Regions from separate parts of the Homo sapiens genome. Here all the other regions are linked to region 4. Evidence: promoter capture Hi-C in 16 types of primary human blood cells and fetal thymus (Javierre and others, 2016). All regions are on one chromosome and are shown on one strand. The core of a region is centred on a gene start or on the middle of the fragment in contact, and the rest is flanking DNA. Distances in the headings are between cores, read along the strand shown.

Region 1 (2,901 bases), core at 360-2,859, 460 kb before region 4:
ATTAACTGGGGGTGGGAGGAGTTGGGGGGGCAGGGTGGTGGGTGGTTGTTGGTGAGTGGGTAGTGACTGAAAGTGGTCAGGAGGAGGGTTCCGGGGCGCTGGTGTACATATCATACTTCTATTAAAAGTTTAACAAAAACGAATTACTTTCATTCAGACTGGGTATTAGACCACATTAAGGAATATTGTTAATTTTCTTAGGCATGTTAATAGCCTTATATTTTTTATGTATTTTTTTTTTGAAGTACAAATCTGTTGTGATAAATGCTTAAGTATTCACAGCTGAAATAATGTGATGTCTGGGATTTGCTTTAAAATAATTCCCTGGATGGGAAGGGACTGCTTAAACAGGATAGATAAGCAGATGTTGATTATTGTTCAAAACCAGTTAATGGGTACATGAGGGTTCATTATACTATTGTCTCCACTTTTGCGAATGTCTGAAATATTCTAATAATAATAATAATGAGAGGCTTCTCATCACAGAATTTCAAGGCAGTCGCTTCACCTCCCTGACTCCCAGTTTCTACCTCAATAAAATAGGGCTGATGATATAATGCACTGTACTCACAGGGATGTTGTGAGCAGCAGGGGGAGAAAGGGTTTTATGAAATGTTGTGTTTTTGTTTTTGTTTTAGAGACGGAGTCTCATTCTGTCACCCAGGCTGGAGTGCAGTGGCGCGATCTCGGCTCACTCTCCGCCTCCCGGGTTCAAGCAATTCTCCTGCCTCAGCCTCCCGAGTAGCTGGGATTACAGGCACCTGCCACCACGCGCGGCTAATTTTTGTATTTTTAGTAGAGACGGGGTTTCACTGCGTTGATCAGGCTGGTCTCGAATGCCTCACTTCATAATCCGCCTGCCTCGGCCTACCAAAGTGCTGGGATTACAGGCGTGAGACACCGCGGCCGGCTGAAATGTTTTAATATTGGTAACCACTGCCATTATGGTTTCTAGTACTAATTTGTTGCCTCCAAGCGTTCTCTCCTCCTCGCCCTGTAATTTTTTTTTTTTCTTAAGACAGAGTATTGCTCTGTCACCCAGGCTGGAGTGTAGTGGTTCGATTTCGGCTCATTGCAACCTCAGCCTCATGGGTTCAAGCGATTCTCCTGCCTCAGCCTCCCAAGTAGTTGGGATTACAGGTGGGTGTCACCATGCCCGGCTAATTTTTTTATTTTTAGTAGAGATGCGGTTTCACCATTTTGGCAGCCTGGTCTCGAACTCTTGGCCTCAAGTGATCCGCCCGCCTCGGCCCCCCAAAGTGCTGGGATGACAGGTGTGAGCCACCACGCTCGGCTTCCCTGTAATTGTTGATTCCACTTTTCCTCTGGTTCTTTTCAATGGTTCCTTCCTGCTACCCCCCTCCCCCGGCAGCCCAATGGTTGAGCCCGGCTTCCCCGGGGGAAACCCCTTGGGGCGGATCACGCGGTATCAGCCAGTGGCCTCCCTGGTGGATAGAAGGATCGCTCTGCGCCGGGGGCGGGCCAGTAATCGTAGGCGGGGCGCGGGTCCAGAGCTCCGATTGGCCAGAGTCGGAGTAAACATCCGGCGGGACGGGGCGGGGCCGGAAGTGGAAGTGGAAGTAGAAGGCGGTGGCTGAGGCGGTTCCGGAGGTTCTAGTGTCGGAGTTGGGTGCAGGCAGGTGCCATGGGCCCGCTTGAGGCACACTGAGGGGACGCGGGGCTGGGCCATGGCCGGCGCTCGGGCCGCCGCCGCCGCTGCCTCGGCGGGGTCCTCGGCCTCTTCAGGCAACCAGCCGCCTCAGGAGCTGGGGCTTGGGGAGCTGCTGGAGGAGTTCTCCCGGACTCAGTACCGGGCCAAGGATGGCAGCGGGACCGGCGGCTCTAAGGTGAGATTGGAGGTGCGATGAGCTGGGGAAGGCTCCTAACTTGGGAAGTTACAGAGGAAAGGCTGAGGCCAGGGGTCAGAAAAAGGTAGGAGTGGTACCTCGCCGCTGAGGAAGAGGAGAGAGAGAGAGGAGTTCTCCAGGGTCTGTATCCGGAGTATAAGAGTCGGTCTTGACAACCATAAAAGGAGGAACTGGGGTCAGAATGAGCCCAGCAAAGAGGTCCTTCTTGTTTGAGAAGGGGTCTGGAGGTGAGAGATCAAGCTGAGGGGCCAGGTTCAAAGATCAGAGAGGAGGACCTAAGGAAGGTCTATTCCCTGCTTCAGGTGCCGTAGGATGAGTTGTGTCAGGGAAAAAGCCCCAAGAAAAAGCTAAGAAAAATAGGGAGACGATTCCTCGGGGTCAGAGGTCAGAATGGAGCCAGGAGGTGAACCCAGTGTGCTGCCCCCTTATAAGGTCTCAGCATGACTTAGGCCCATCCCTTTCCTTCCCCTATAGAGCAGGAAGACAACCCACACTCCCTTTCAGTTCCTTTATCTAAAGCAGGTCTCCGTTCCTCTTTTTGCTCCCTTTGGGATTTCCACCCAGTCGTCTTATCGCCAGACCTGGAGGGCTTCCTGTCAGCTCAGGCCATCCCCACCCTAAGCACTGGCTGGCAGTGCGGTGGGAATCTTGCCGACCCTGCCATCTCATTCCCCCACGTGGTTTTGGCAGCTTTAGCACCAAGTTTTCCAGTGGAATTCTGTTCCATCCTGCACCACAGAACTCTGATTTGACCTCAGAGATTACCGTGAGTTGCTATTCTGTAGTTGGCATCTTGTAGTCTCTGAAGTAACCCAGGGAAGACTTCAGTAAGGATTGGACTTCCTCACTCTCCAAATGGCCAAGTAATTTTTCCAAGTATAGTCTGGGGACCACCTGTTTAATGATCATCTGGGGTACTTTTAAAATTTGTGCTTATGGGATACTTTGTGAAAACAGAGATTCCTTAGTCCCACCCAGTCCTACCAAGTCAGAATTTCTGGGGGTGGGATCCTGGAATTTGCTTTTTTTTTTT
Region 2 (2,999 bases), core at 411-2,910, 400 kb before region 4:
CCACCCCTTCTTGTCACTGTCTCCCACCCACCCCATCTTTGCTGGGATTCCCATCAACTCTCAGAACTGTGTGGGGTTTCCCTGGGGCCTTGTGGAAGCCATGACTTCACAAAGACCCTACCTGTCAGTTCTTGTTTCTGGGGAGGAGGGATCACCTGCACTGAGAATGAGGCAGTTTGACACAGATCACAAAATAAAATCAAAGTCTTTTTGAATAGCCACTCTTGTGTCATCATTTGGTTATTGTCTTTGTGGAGCTACTAGGAAGGTTCTCATTGTCCTTCCTTGTGCTGGACAAGGGGTTTTTATGTGGAGGGCAGGTGAAACAGGAAGAGAACTGGCGACAGGTATACCTCTCCACTCATGAGCCATGGTAGTCCCTGCAGTGGGGACAACACTCAAGACTGTTGAGAGTAGTGGTTCTCGGGCCTAAGCAGGTCCTAGTCACCTAGAGAGCCTGATGAGCTGTGCACATTCCCAGGGCTGCCTGAGCTTTAGCCTTAGGGTTGCTAAGGAAGTTGCCTGGGAATTAGGAGCTGGAGGATCTTCATTTTTTTCAGATTTTTTGAGATGGAGTCTCACTGTTACCCAAGCTGGAGTGCAATGGCACAATCTTGGCTCACTGCAACCCCTGCCTCCTGGGTTCAAGCGATCCTCCTGCCTCAGTCTCCTGAGTAGCTACGTGAACGTGCCACCATCCCCAGCTAATTTTTGTATTTAGTAGAGATGGGGTTTCACCATGTTGGCCAGGCCAGTCTCAAACTCCTGAGCTCAAGTGATCTGCCTGCCTTGGCCTCCTAAAGTGCTGGGATTACAGGCATGAGCCACCGTACCTGACCAGGATCTTCATCTTTAACAAGTTCTGTAGGCAGCAGGGTCCTGGTACGGGTGACCTGCATCCCCTACCTTGAGCCCTGCCTATGGAGGAAGGACTGGCTTCTGAAGCTTTGGAGATAGCAATTGGTGTGCATGTGTGGTGGGTGAGAGCCTGGCTGACCACCACCCTCTTCTACAGTGTAACCTACAGTAGATTGCGTCATGAGAGTGTGTCCGCATCTGTAACGCCATGAAAGTCGTGAGGGTTAAAGGCATGGGCAGACAGCTTTGCACGGTGCTCAACAGCCACCATTTACTGTCATCATTGTGAATACCCAGAGGACAAATCATAAATACCAGTGAATGTTTACTGAGCACTTGCTGTGTGCTAAGTGTTTTCCTTGGGTTATCTCAGTAAAATTTTACAGCACCTAAAGTAGCTGCTGTTAAAGGCCTTTCTGACGGCCTTTCACGGTTGAGCCACAGAGATGTTGAGTAACTTGTCCAAGGTCACACAGCTACTAAGAGATGTACTTTTCCTATTCAGAGACCTAGGCAGGCTGGGAGTGGGAAAAGACAGAAACACTAAGGGAGTGGCTCAGTAAGAGGCAACAATTCCAGTGCCCACCAGGTGCCCCAAATGTTTCAGCATCATGGACAACTCTAGGGGGCTTGGGTTTCCACCCCAGAGACTTGCGCAGGGCAGACTCTACCAAGGTGTGGGTTGGAGTTGGGAGTCGGGGTGAGGTTCCCCGCTGGCTCCAGGCTGCTCCAATGGGGCGGGGGCCGCCCGCAGGGCCGGGCGGGGCTGTGCTGCCATCTGGAGCCGCTGCCGCCGGCGGCCACTGTCAGGGCGCGAGCGGCTGGAGCGCACGCAGGGCTGGAGCGAGTGCAGCCGCCGCCGCCGCCGACACCGCGGCACATGGGCCGGCCCCGCCGCTGCCGTCGCCCCTAGCCCCAGCAGCCCTGGTCTCGCAGCCTCCTGCGGCTCTGGTCGCCCGACCAGCCATGTCTCTCGGCGGAGCCTCCGAGCGCAGCGTCCCGGCCACCAAGATTGAAATTACCGTGTCCTGCCGGTGAGCGGGCCGCGCTGGGGAGGGCTTAGGCACTGGCACTGCCCCAGCCCCAGCCAGCCGCGGGGCTCAGCCTGGGCAGGGGCTAGACCCCCGGGGAGAGGCGAAATTGGCTGGAAAATCACAGCTGATGACAGGGCGAGTAGCTGGTGGGATCGAGAAGCGGGGGGTCTTGGGCAGCCCCACCCCGAAAAAAGGGCTCAGCCTGCGGGTTCAGGGGGTGGGTCGCAGATATCCGGTAGGAGCTCGGCCCCAGGAGGACAAAGTTCTGGGGCGAGCCCTCTTTCCTGGGCCCTTGGAGACAGTGTGGGTGCGTTCGCGTCCAGTCCGCAGAGCCATGGTTCCTGGACAGCGATTTCCGGTGCTGTCCAGAGTGCTGACAGAGCGGACCCCGGCTGGGGGTAGCCATGGGGGACAGAGGTTCGATGCGGGCCCCATGCCTCTCCTCAGTGCCCGGCTCAGAGCCGACTCGAGGCGGGCGGACTCCAGGATGATCCACTCTGTCTGTCTGTTGCTTTTCTCTAGGAACCTGCTAGACCTTGATACCTTCTCCAAGTCCGACCCCAGTAGGCGGCTCCAGGACCGGGAGGGGGAACTTGGGGTCTGGGCGCGACTCAGGGGCGGGTGGAGTCGGGGCCAGGGGTGGGAGCCGACCTGACGTCCTTCCCTCCCCGCCCCCACCTGCAGTGGTGGTGCTTTACACGCAGAGCCGGGCCAGCCAGGAGTGGCGGGAGGTGAGTCCCAGAGCCCCCTCCCGGCCCAGGGCGTCGCCCGGGAATTCCCCTGCCCGTCTGCACGTCCCACGCTGACCCTCCACCCCCCTACCCAGTTCGGACGGACCGAGGTGATTGATAACACGCTGAACCCAGACTTCGTGCGCAAATTCGTCCTCGACTATTTCTTTGAGGAAAAGCAAAATCTGCGCTTCGATGTGTGAGGCCCCGCCTGGAATTCTGGCTTGGCCCGCCCCCGACCTGGATCCGCCCGGAATTCTGGCTGGCCCCACCCCCGCCTCGCCTCCGGCCTGGTTCTTCTCGCAGGCCTCCCTCCCATTCTGAATGGCCCCCTCTAGCCTGAGCCCTGCCCTTTTATGAGATGCGGTCCAGTTCC
Region 3 (2,700 bases), core at 5-2,504, 260 kb before region 4:
AGGAATAAATCACTGAATAGAGAGTGGGGTTCAGAGAAATTCAGTTATTTTCCTAAAGCCGCACAGCAAGCTGATCACAGAGCCTAGGTATGTCTGACTCCAAAGCCTGTGTTTTGTCCGTCGATAAATAATCATTATTTATTTATTTATTTATTTAGACTGAGTCTTGCTCTGTCATCCCAGGCTGGAGCGCAGTAGCACGATGTCGGCTCACTGCAACCTCTGCTATCCGGGTTCAAGTGACTCTCCTGCCTCAGCCTCCCGAGTAGCTGGGATTACAGGCGGACGCCGCCACACCTGGCTAATTTTTGTGTTTTTAGTAGAGACGGGGTTTCACCATGTTGGCCAGGCTAGTCTCGAACTCCTGACCTCAGGTGATCCGCCCGCGTCAGCACCCTAAAGTGCCGGGATTACAGGCGTGAGCCACCGCGGCCAATAAACAATAATCTAGTATAGCAACTCCCGTAACTGAGCGCCGGCTATGTGCAAGGCTCGGTAGTTATTTGCATCTTCTCCCCACTCTTAACCCTACTGCATCATGGCAGTAGGGTTAAAAGCGGGGAGAGGGTGCAAATTAGGTGGCTTGTCCCAGCTCATGCTGCTAGTGGGAGGCAGAAGCAGGGCTGATCCCGTGGCTTCAATGGAGAGCCCAACTGCACGCCGAGGCAGTCCCCTCCCGGTCCTTGTGCGGCCGTGCCTCTCACCCCTCACCTTTCCGGTCCACCACGGCTGCCCGCAGCGCATCAACCAGCTCCTCCCGACTGAGGTTTTTTGGCAGCAGCCCCGCGAAGGGCTGGTCCCCGAGGGGCCCCGACCGTTGGCAGGAGCCGCGGGGTTGCCTCTGATGCCTGGACAAGGAGGGAGAAGCAATGGGAGTCATTCCATCCCGAGGTGCCACCCATTCCTATCTCCGGACGCCTCTTCCCAAATCCTGCGGCCTCTGACAAATGCCTCACAATGTCTGGGCTGACCTCGAAAATTCAGGTACGACCGGTCCCATTCTACAGCGGAGGGCACCGAGGCTCAGAGAGGCCAACGGGGCTGTTTTCGGGTAACATCTACCTGATCCAGATCCCGCACGTGCCTTCCCCCTGCCCTAGCCTCCGTCCCGCATGAGAGAGGGGGTACTTAATCACCGGGCTTCGGTGCCAAAGCCTGCGTCCTCGGGCACTGGGCGGACACCCAGGCCCCGCCGCCAGCCACTCCAGAACCGGCCCAAAACACGGCGGCCGTCCATCTCCCGAGCCAGGACAGCGCGCATGTGCGTCCAGAGGGGCAGACCCGCGCTCCAGCCAGCGCGCTGATTGGTCAGCTGGAGTGTCAATCGGAATGGTGACCGGGCGGGACTCAGAGCCTGAGGAGGCGGGGCTTTTCCTCCGCCCAGGAAGGAAATGCAGAAATGCCTTCCTATGCTTTTAGGGAGAGCGCTGTAGCAGAAGAATTTGATCTGATCAAAAAACCTGTCTTAGCAAAAAACCTGAAGCCGCCTTTGCAAAAATTATATTACAAAATTATGACAGCGAAAGAGATCTGATCTAACCAACCCGCAGCTTGCCTTTAACCTCTAAACGGTCCTTGGTCATTCCTGGGCTTGGGCCAAGCTAACTTTGGGAGAAATTAGTTCGTAGTCTAAATGATAATTGCCCTTCCCCCGAACTAAACTGGCTTCATAGAGTTAATGAAAGGCCACCAGGTTAGGAGTAGTAGAGGGACCTGAATTCTGCTAAGGGTTAGAGGTAACTGATTACCAGCGGTTATTCCGGAGGTCACAGTGTTTGCAGCTTCCCCAGCTCACGATTGTCCAACCTGAGATTGGCCTTTGGAGATGTCTTTCCAGGCTTTTGCATTTCTGACGGCCGGATCACCCCACCCGGACCCTCAACTCTTGGCTCTACTAGTCCTGTGGCCCCTCGAAGTCAGGAGATCGAGACCATCCTGGCTAACACGGTGAAACCACGTCTCCACCAAAAATACAAAAAAATTAGCCGGGCGTGGTGGCGGGCGCCTGTAGTCCCAGCTACTCGGGAGGCTGAGGCAGGAGAATGGCGTGAACCCGGGAGGCGGAGTTTGCAGTGAGCCGAGATCGTGCCACTGCACTCCAGCCTGGGCGACGAGCGAGACTCCGTCTCAAAAAAAAAAAAAAAAGAAAAAAGAAAAAGAAAGTAGAAGAACACAGAAAAAAAAGAATAATATAATGACTGCCCACATTCCTACCATCAGAATTAGTCATTGTGAAACAATATATATATGTATAGGTTTCCTGTTTTTCTTGTTTAAGAAATGAAAGGGATAAAAGTAAATTCCCCTTTACTGCGTGCTTCCAGTTTTCACTCCCTCCCCAGTCTCCACTTTGAGTTTGGTGTGAACATTTTCCTAATGTGTTTTGGTTTTTGTTTTTTGGAGACAGAGTCTCGCTCTGTCACCCAGGCTAGAGTGCAGTGGCCCGATCTCGACTCACTGCAACTTCCACCTCCCGGGTTCAAGCGATTCCCCTGCCTTTGCCTCCTGAGTAGCTGGAATTACAGGTGCGGTGCCCGCCACCACACCCGGCTAATTTTTTGTATTTTAGTGACGGGGTTTCACCATGTCGCCCAGGCTGGTCTCGAACTCCTGAGCTCAGGCAATCCGCCCGCCTTGGCCTCCCAAAGTGCTAGGATTACAGACGTGAGCCACTGTGCCCGGCCACTAATGTGTTTTTTT
Region 4 (2,755 bases), core at 6-2,505:
ATGCTACTGTAGTCCAGCCGTGATGACAGAATGAAACCCTGTCTCCAAAAACCAAAAAAATGCTACAAAATTACATTAGGAGTACATTTCAGCTAAAATGGAGACTCATGAGTTCCATGTAGCCTACCAGAAAGCCTAGCTTCAGTGCTGCTACCAAGTTCTTTCTTGCCAGGCTGTAAGTATTGTTTAATATCAGTATTTCTACCCACTTTTGTACACTCTAGTGGTATTAGGGTGTGGTTGGTTAGGGTTTTTTTCTTATTTTCATTGTTTTGGTCGGGGGAGGTTTTAAAGTAATCCTTGACCTATATATATAGATTTTTGACATCCCCTGGTACATAGAAATCCATACATCTTTCTCCTCTACACCCCTTTTCCCCCCAATTCATTGTGGTTGTAGGTGTTTATGTGAGTTCACACTAGGCTCATTGGTTTATATCATTTGTTTAACGGTTATCACATGGACATGTCAATGCTAGTTTGACTCTAAATGGTTCAACCTTACAATGGGAATGTTCTTCCTTGTTCTCTATCATTGGTCCTTTTTTGGAGGGGAAGGGATGAAAGGGGCTCCTGAATCATCACTGCTTGAAACAAAAGCAAGATGGCTGGGACAATGTCACAGTTTCATTTACATGGACAGGTTTCTGTAAGCTTTAGGTACATACCAAAGGGCATGGTGTGAGTAAATGGGGATCAAATGAGGACCCTTTACTTGGAGTGCTGCAAGGCAAAGGTGCACTTTTTGTAAGTTGCATACAGCAAGAGGATAGAGCGCAGCATCTGTTTGCACATAGTGACTGTCATCTGAATCTGAGGCTCCTTCAGTCCAATGGGCCACTGGTGCTCCCTGCTAATGATTTTGCAAAAGGCTGACTTGTCTGAAACTCTGAAAGTCCCGGTCCACTTTGGTGGCTGAGCTGTGATAACCCTGCCAAAGACAGAATCTACTCCACTGAGGCGGATGGGCTGGGGCTTCCTGACCAGTCCTTTGTTGTTCATCGTGCGCAACTCTGATGTGTGGCAGGGTAACTTGGGACTCACTCCAGATTCCAGGAATGGGCTGTCTAGGACTAGAGTGACCTCTTGAAAGCACAGCTGCACTTCAAGGTCGGACGGTGTGTGTGGGAAGCAGGGGGAGGCCTTGAATGGGTGCTTGGAGGAAGGTGTAGGTGTCGTGTGCCGCAGCCATTGGAAACTCTCATCCAGTGGGGTCCATGGTGACCAGAGCTGGTATCCTGCCATTGACAGTCCTAAAGGAGGGAAATCAGAGCATGGAATTTCCCTGACATGCTTTTCATGAGAGCATGGCCTTTCAAATTCCCATCTCTGTCTCACTATAGACATAAACTTGTTCTATAGTTCCCATGAATAGATTCCAACAGGTGTTAGGATATTAGTAATTATTTTATTTTATTTTATTTTTTCTTTTTTGAGACAAGAGTCTCGCTCTGTCACTCAGGCTGGAGTGCAGTGGAGCGATCTTGGCTCACTGTATTTTTTTGTAGTGACAGAGTTTTGCCATGTTGGCCAGGCTGCTCTCCAACTCCTGACCTCAGGTGATCCACCGCCTCGGCCTCCCAAAGTGCTGGGATTATAGGCGTGACCCACTTCGCCCAGCCTAGATATTAGTAATTCTAATAAAGGGAAGTAGGGAATGATTACAAGTATTGATCTGGCAACTGCTATGTGTACTAAAACTTTATATTAAACTTTTTCACAAGCCTTTGGAAGTAGGTCTTAACCCATTTTATAGATGAGGCAATGGATTTGTCTGAAATGAATATAGGTCCACTGTTAGGACCTATGCTGTGTTGTTAGCTGCTAATGACAGAGTCTTTATCTTCTGAGGTGACAGAAGCTTCTGGGACTTCATGATGAGACCTTATTACTTGAGATTAGAAGAAGCTCAGAAAAGTCATGTCTTAAAAATATTTGTGGCTGGACACAGTGGCTCATGCCTATAATCCCAGCACTTTGGGAGGCTGAGGCGGGCGGATCACTTGAGGTCAGAGTTCCAGAACAGCCTGGCCAACATGGTGAAACCCTGTCTCTACTAAAAATACAAAAATTAGCCGGGCGTGGTGGCGCATGCCTGTAGTCCCAGCTCTGTGGGGAGGCTGAGGTGTGAGAATTGCTTTAACCCAGGAGGCGGAGGTTGCAGTGAGTCAAGATCGCACCACTGCACTCCAGCCTGGGTGAAAGAGCAAGACTCCATCTAAAAAAAAAAAAAAAAAAAAAATTATATATATATATATATATATATATATATATATATATATATATATATATTTTGAGGTTCGCGATGTATGAACCCTGTAGTAGCAGCTTCAGCATCATTTGGAAACTTGCAGAAATGCACATTTTTGGGCCCCACCTCAGACCAACAGGAACAAACTCCACGTGGGACCCAGCAATCTGCATTTATATAAGCCCTCTTGCATTGTCTATTTTGAGAATTTCTTATGCTATTCCTTTCAAACAACTCTAGCTTTCACTATTCATTACTGAGATCATCTCCTGGCCCCAAAGGCCTCTGCATTTTCTAGCACAAGGGAGCAACTTGCAGACCCCTGGGTTATTTATATACCACCTCAGAGGAGCTACACCAGGCTGGGAGAAAACACTTCCAAAGTCCAGTCAAAAAACTGTTAAAGATTTTTGTTTTTCTAGGTGTGGGTGTGGTTTTAAATTTGTTTTTCTGATTTGTTTGTTTTCCATCTATGGAAGACCTACTGGTTCCATAAGACCTTAA
Region 5 (3,011 bases), core at 291-2,790, 330 kb before region 4:
ACTCTGTCCCTTCCTGGCCCCATCTAACCCTATCCAGCCTGGCCCTTCCTCTGCTGAGGTCTGTCTCATCCAGCAGGAGAGGGTGGGAGTTCTCTCCCATTTATCAGATGAAGAATGGGGAGACTGAGGTTGGAGTTAGGTAGAGGCTGGCTCCAGAGGCCCTAATGACACCTGGCCTGGGGCCCCCAGCTAAGCTTGCTGAGGGCAAAGGCCATCGAATGGCCTTGGCTGGTACTTCCAATATGAAGCCAGAATGGGCCCCATTCAGAGAACACAGCCTCCCAACCCATCCACAGATGAGGCCAAAACAGAGCCCAGCATGCTTTGTGACCTCAGGGAGAGCACTTTCCTTCTCTCTTTTTCTCTAAGGGAGAATGAGGAGAAGGTGCCCTGACTAGGGCCTCTGGTGTGAGATTCCACTCCTGGAACAGGACCTTTTTCCCAGGGGACCCTGCCCACCCATCCAGGGGCAGAATCTTCTAGGAAAGGAGACTCGAGTGTAAGCTCTAGAGGCAGAGTCTGAAACCCACATGGAGGCCTACCAAATACAACCCTCACAGATCCACACACATCCCTGTAGCAGACATGCCACACCAAGCCCCCTCCACAGCCCTGAACTCAAACACCTGCCTCCCAGATCCAGTACGCCTTGTATCCACATCCCGTGACACCTGATCATACATGTACTCCCAGACATCAGCACACATGTCCACACCACACAGTGCCCCAGACAGCCCTGCACCCGAACACCTGCCTGTCCATCCAAACATCCCTCACCCAGCTCCCTCTTACACCCCAAAACACACATCCACCCGCACCCACACAAGATGACACCCAGACACACACACACACACCCTCATATACCAGACGTACCCTACACCCTCCAGCTCCTCTACCCCATCCCCTGGAAGCTCCTGTATTCCAAACCAAACCCCAAGTCCTTACACACCTAACTCCAAACATCCTCAGTACACAATTGTACACCCCCTCCTAACTCTGACTTAAGACCCTGAGAGCCAAATACCAGCACACAAAACACGTGGACACCCCTCTGGAACAAAAAACACACAGATTCCCAGATCCTCCACCCATGTCTGACCCACACGCCTGTCCTAAGACAGTACACTCCGCAAGCCCCCCCACCCCATGGATACCTCCAAATGCCCACGCCCTTCCAGTCAGGCCCAGCTGAAGGCGCTCACACAGGCCCCCTTCTCTATTACCCACTCAGTGTCCCATAGGCCCGCCTGGCACCTGCTGGGCCTGGGACAGAGGTGGAGAAAGGCCCAGCCCTGCCCCTCAGGGTCCAGCCCGCCCGGGAGAGTGCCCAGTGGCCACTCCTTGGGAAAGGATACCCAGAGGCTAGGGGCTCCCACCGCCCCCACGCAGCGCCCAGGGGTGCAGGGATGGGGGGCCCGGCTGTACCTGCGGCTGCCCCGCCGCGGGGCTGGCTGGGAGGCCCGCGGTGGTTGGCGCCGAGCTGTGGCCGCGGTCCTCACCGCTGCGTGCCTGGGCCACCCGCCCGCGCTCTTGCTGGAGCTGGGGCTCGGCTCGGCTCGGCGGCTCTCTCCGCCCGCCTGCGGCTCTGATGTCAGTGGAGGTGGAGCCTGCGGCGGAGGGACCCGGGATTGGGAGGCGAGGCACCGCTCCAAGGCTGGGGAAGGGGCACGGGTGGAGGCCATCTCCCTGCTTCTGGTCAGAGATCTCCTGCTGGACGCTTCCCGCCCTTGGTCTTAAGCGGGGTCCATTTCACAGAGGGGACAACTGAGGCCCGGAGAGATGATTTTCAAATCAGCGGGTGGTCGGAAGCAAAGCAGGATTCGAACCCCGTCTGTCTGAAGCTAGAGGCCGGCCAAACTCACCCTGTGGCCTGGTGGATTTTCTTTCAGACCAGTTCTGCGACCTCCCTTAGGGCTCTGTCTCCCTTCTCCGTGCCCTGAAGGGAAACAGGCCCTGGAACTGCACGGGAGTCTGGTGGGGGATGGGGGAGTGAGGGAGTGGGGAAGGACCGGGCAAGACTAGGCAATGAAGAGAGTGGAGGTGGTCGCAGGGTGTGGGCCCCACTTGACAGGTGGGAAGACTGAGGCCCCGGTTCCTCTGCAAGATGGAGCTGAGGCTTCAGCCCCAGACACTTGCTCCTCAGAGCGGGTGGTGGTGCCTAGAGGTATTGGGGGCAGAGGGAATTGGGGAGGAGGAAGTTAAATCGGGATCCTGAAGGAAACAGGCCAAAAAGGACCGAGGTGTCACGTGACTGGCGGGGCTCCAGAGTTTGATGGCTGGGGTCCAGGTTAGGGGAGAGAGCCTGCAACTAGGACGGCAGGCAAGAGGCCAAAGGTCGGTTTGCTCAAGGCCTTCCTTGGGAAGAAATTTGGTGCCGAGTGGAAAGAGGGGGCGGGGGGAGCAACTCGCAGGAATTGGGGATGGGGCTGAACTGGGGGCAGCCGGAGGAGGCACGTTGCTTGGGACCCCACTCCACCTCCAAGGGCCTCCAAGTGCCACTCCCTACTCCTGAATTCTTGCATGTTCCAGCTGGTGATGGGGAGAGAACAGTGCTTATGCCCAGCTCATTTCCTTTTTCTCTTTCTTTCTTTCTTTTTTCTTTCTTTCTCTTCTTCTTTTTTTCTTTTTCTTTTTTTTTTAAGACAGGGTCTTGCTCTGTCACCCAGGCTGGAGTGCAATGGCATGATCACGGCCCACTGCAGCCTCAAACTCCTGGGCTCAAGTCATCTTCCTACCTCAGCCTCCCATGTAGATGGGACTACAGGTGCGTGCCACCACACCTGGCTTTTTTATTTTTTGTAGAGATGGGGATCTCACTATATTGCCCAGGCTGGTCTCAAACTCCTGGGCTCAAGCAATCCTCCCCAATCAGCTTCCCAAGGTTCTGGAATTACAGGCATGAGCCACTGCACCTGGCCAATTTATTATGCCCATCTTACAGATGAGAGAGGAAGATAGCTGAGGTTCCTGGAAAGGCTTTGGAGTCTAACTGATCCTGGTCATGCTTTACC

What was found. The method cuts DNA at HindIII sites, captures the fragments that hold promoters and counts their contacts. A CHiCAGO score of 5 or more calls a contact.
Region 1: the fragment with the promoter of MTMR14 here is called in contact with a fragment that was not itself captured in region 4 in 1 of 17 cell types (neutrophils); the score reaches 5.4 in neutrophils.
Region 2: the fragment with the promoter of CPNE9 here is called in contact with a fragment that was not itself captured in region 4 in 1 of 17 cell types (monocytes); the score reaches 5.8 in monocytes.
Region 3: a contact is called between the fragment with the promoter of RPUSD3 here and a fragment that was not itself captured in region 4, in 3 of 17 cell types (activated CD4 T cells, total CD8 T cells and naive B cells). The highest score is 6.3, in activated CD4 T cells.
Region 5: a contact is called between the fragment with the promoter of CAMK1 here and a fragment that was not itself captured in region 4, in 5 of 17 cell types (monocytes, activated CD4 T cells, neutrophils and 2 more). The highest score is 9.4, in monocytes.

Annotation. Positions count from the first base shown.
Region 1 is chr3:9,647,896-9,650,796 of GRCh38, forward strand. It overlaps MTMR14 (myotubularin related protein 14), which reads left to right and starts at 1,610. Exons shown (of 19, transcript NM_001077525.3): 1 at 1,610-1,847. The coding sequence starts at 1,689. RefSeq lists enhancers at 1,205-1,434, 1,242-2,137, 1,424-1,593 and silencers at 1,465-1,574, 1,675-1,774. The HindIII fragment of the contact is 16,951 bases long and covers 1-2,901 here.
Region 2 is chr3:9,702,173-9,705,171 of GRCh38, forward strand. It overlaps CPNE9 (copine family member 9), which reads left to right and starts at 1,661. Exons shown (of 21, transcript NM_153635.3): 1 at 1,661-1,892; 2 at 2,415-2,455; 3 at 2,577-2,623; 4 at 2,719-2,822. The coding sequence starts at 1,825. It overlaps MTMR14 (myotubularin related protein 14), which reads left to right. Exons shown (of 19, transcript NM_001077525.3): 19 at 1-221. RefSeq lists an enhancer at 1,300-2,210. The HindIII fragment of the contact is 18,760 bases long and covers 944-2,999 here.
Region 3 is chr3:9,842,754-9,845,453 of GRCh38, forward strand. It overlaps RPUSD3 (RNA pseudouridine synthase D3), which reads right to left and starts at 1,255. Exons shown (of 9, transcript NM_173659.5): 1 at 1,137-1,255; 2 at 712-848. The coding sequence starts at 1,237. RefSeq lists an enhancer at 1,118-1,197. The HindIII fragment of the contact is 7,859 bases long and covers 1-2,700 here.
Region 4 is chr3:10,103,530-10,106,284 of GRCh38, forward strand. FANCD2OS (FANCD2 opposite strand) reads right to left here. Exons shown (of 2, transcript NM_001164839.2): 2 at 408-1,253. The coding sequence starts at 1,245. The coding sequence ends at 712. Among named protein-coding and RNA genes, the nearest start is that of FANCD2OS, 3.3 kb to the right of the region's middle. The HindIII fragment of the contact is 1,207 bases long and covers 653-1,859 here.
Region 5 is chr3:9,768,407-9,771,417 of GRCh38, forward strand. It overlaps CAMK1 (calcium/calmodulin dependent protein kinase I), which reads right to left and starts at 1,541. Exons shown (of 12, transcript NM_003656.5): 1 at 1,426-1,541. It also overlaps a transcript of OGG1 not described here. RefSeq lists a silencer at 1,312-1,491. The HindIII fragment of the contact is 10,493 bases long and covers 193-3,011 here.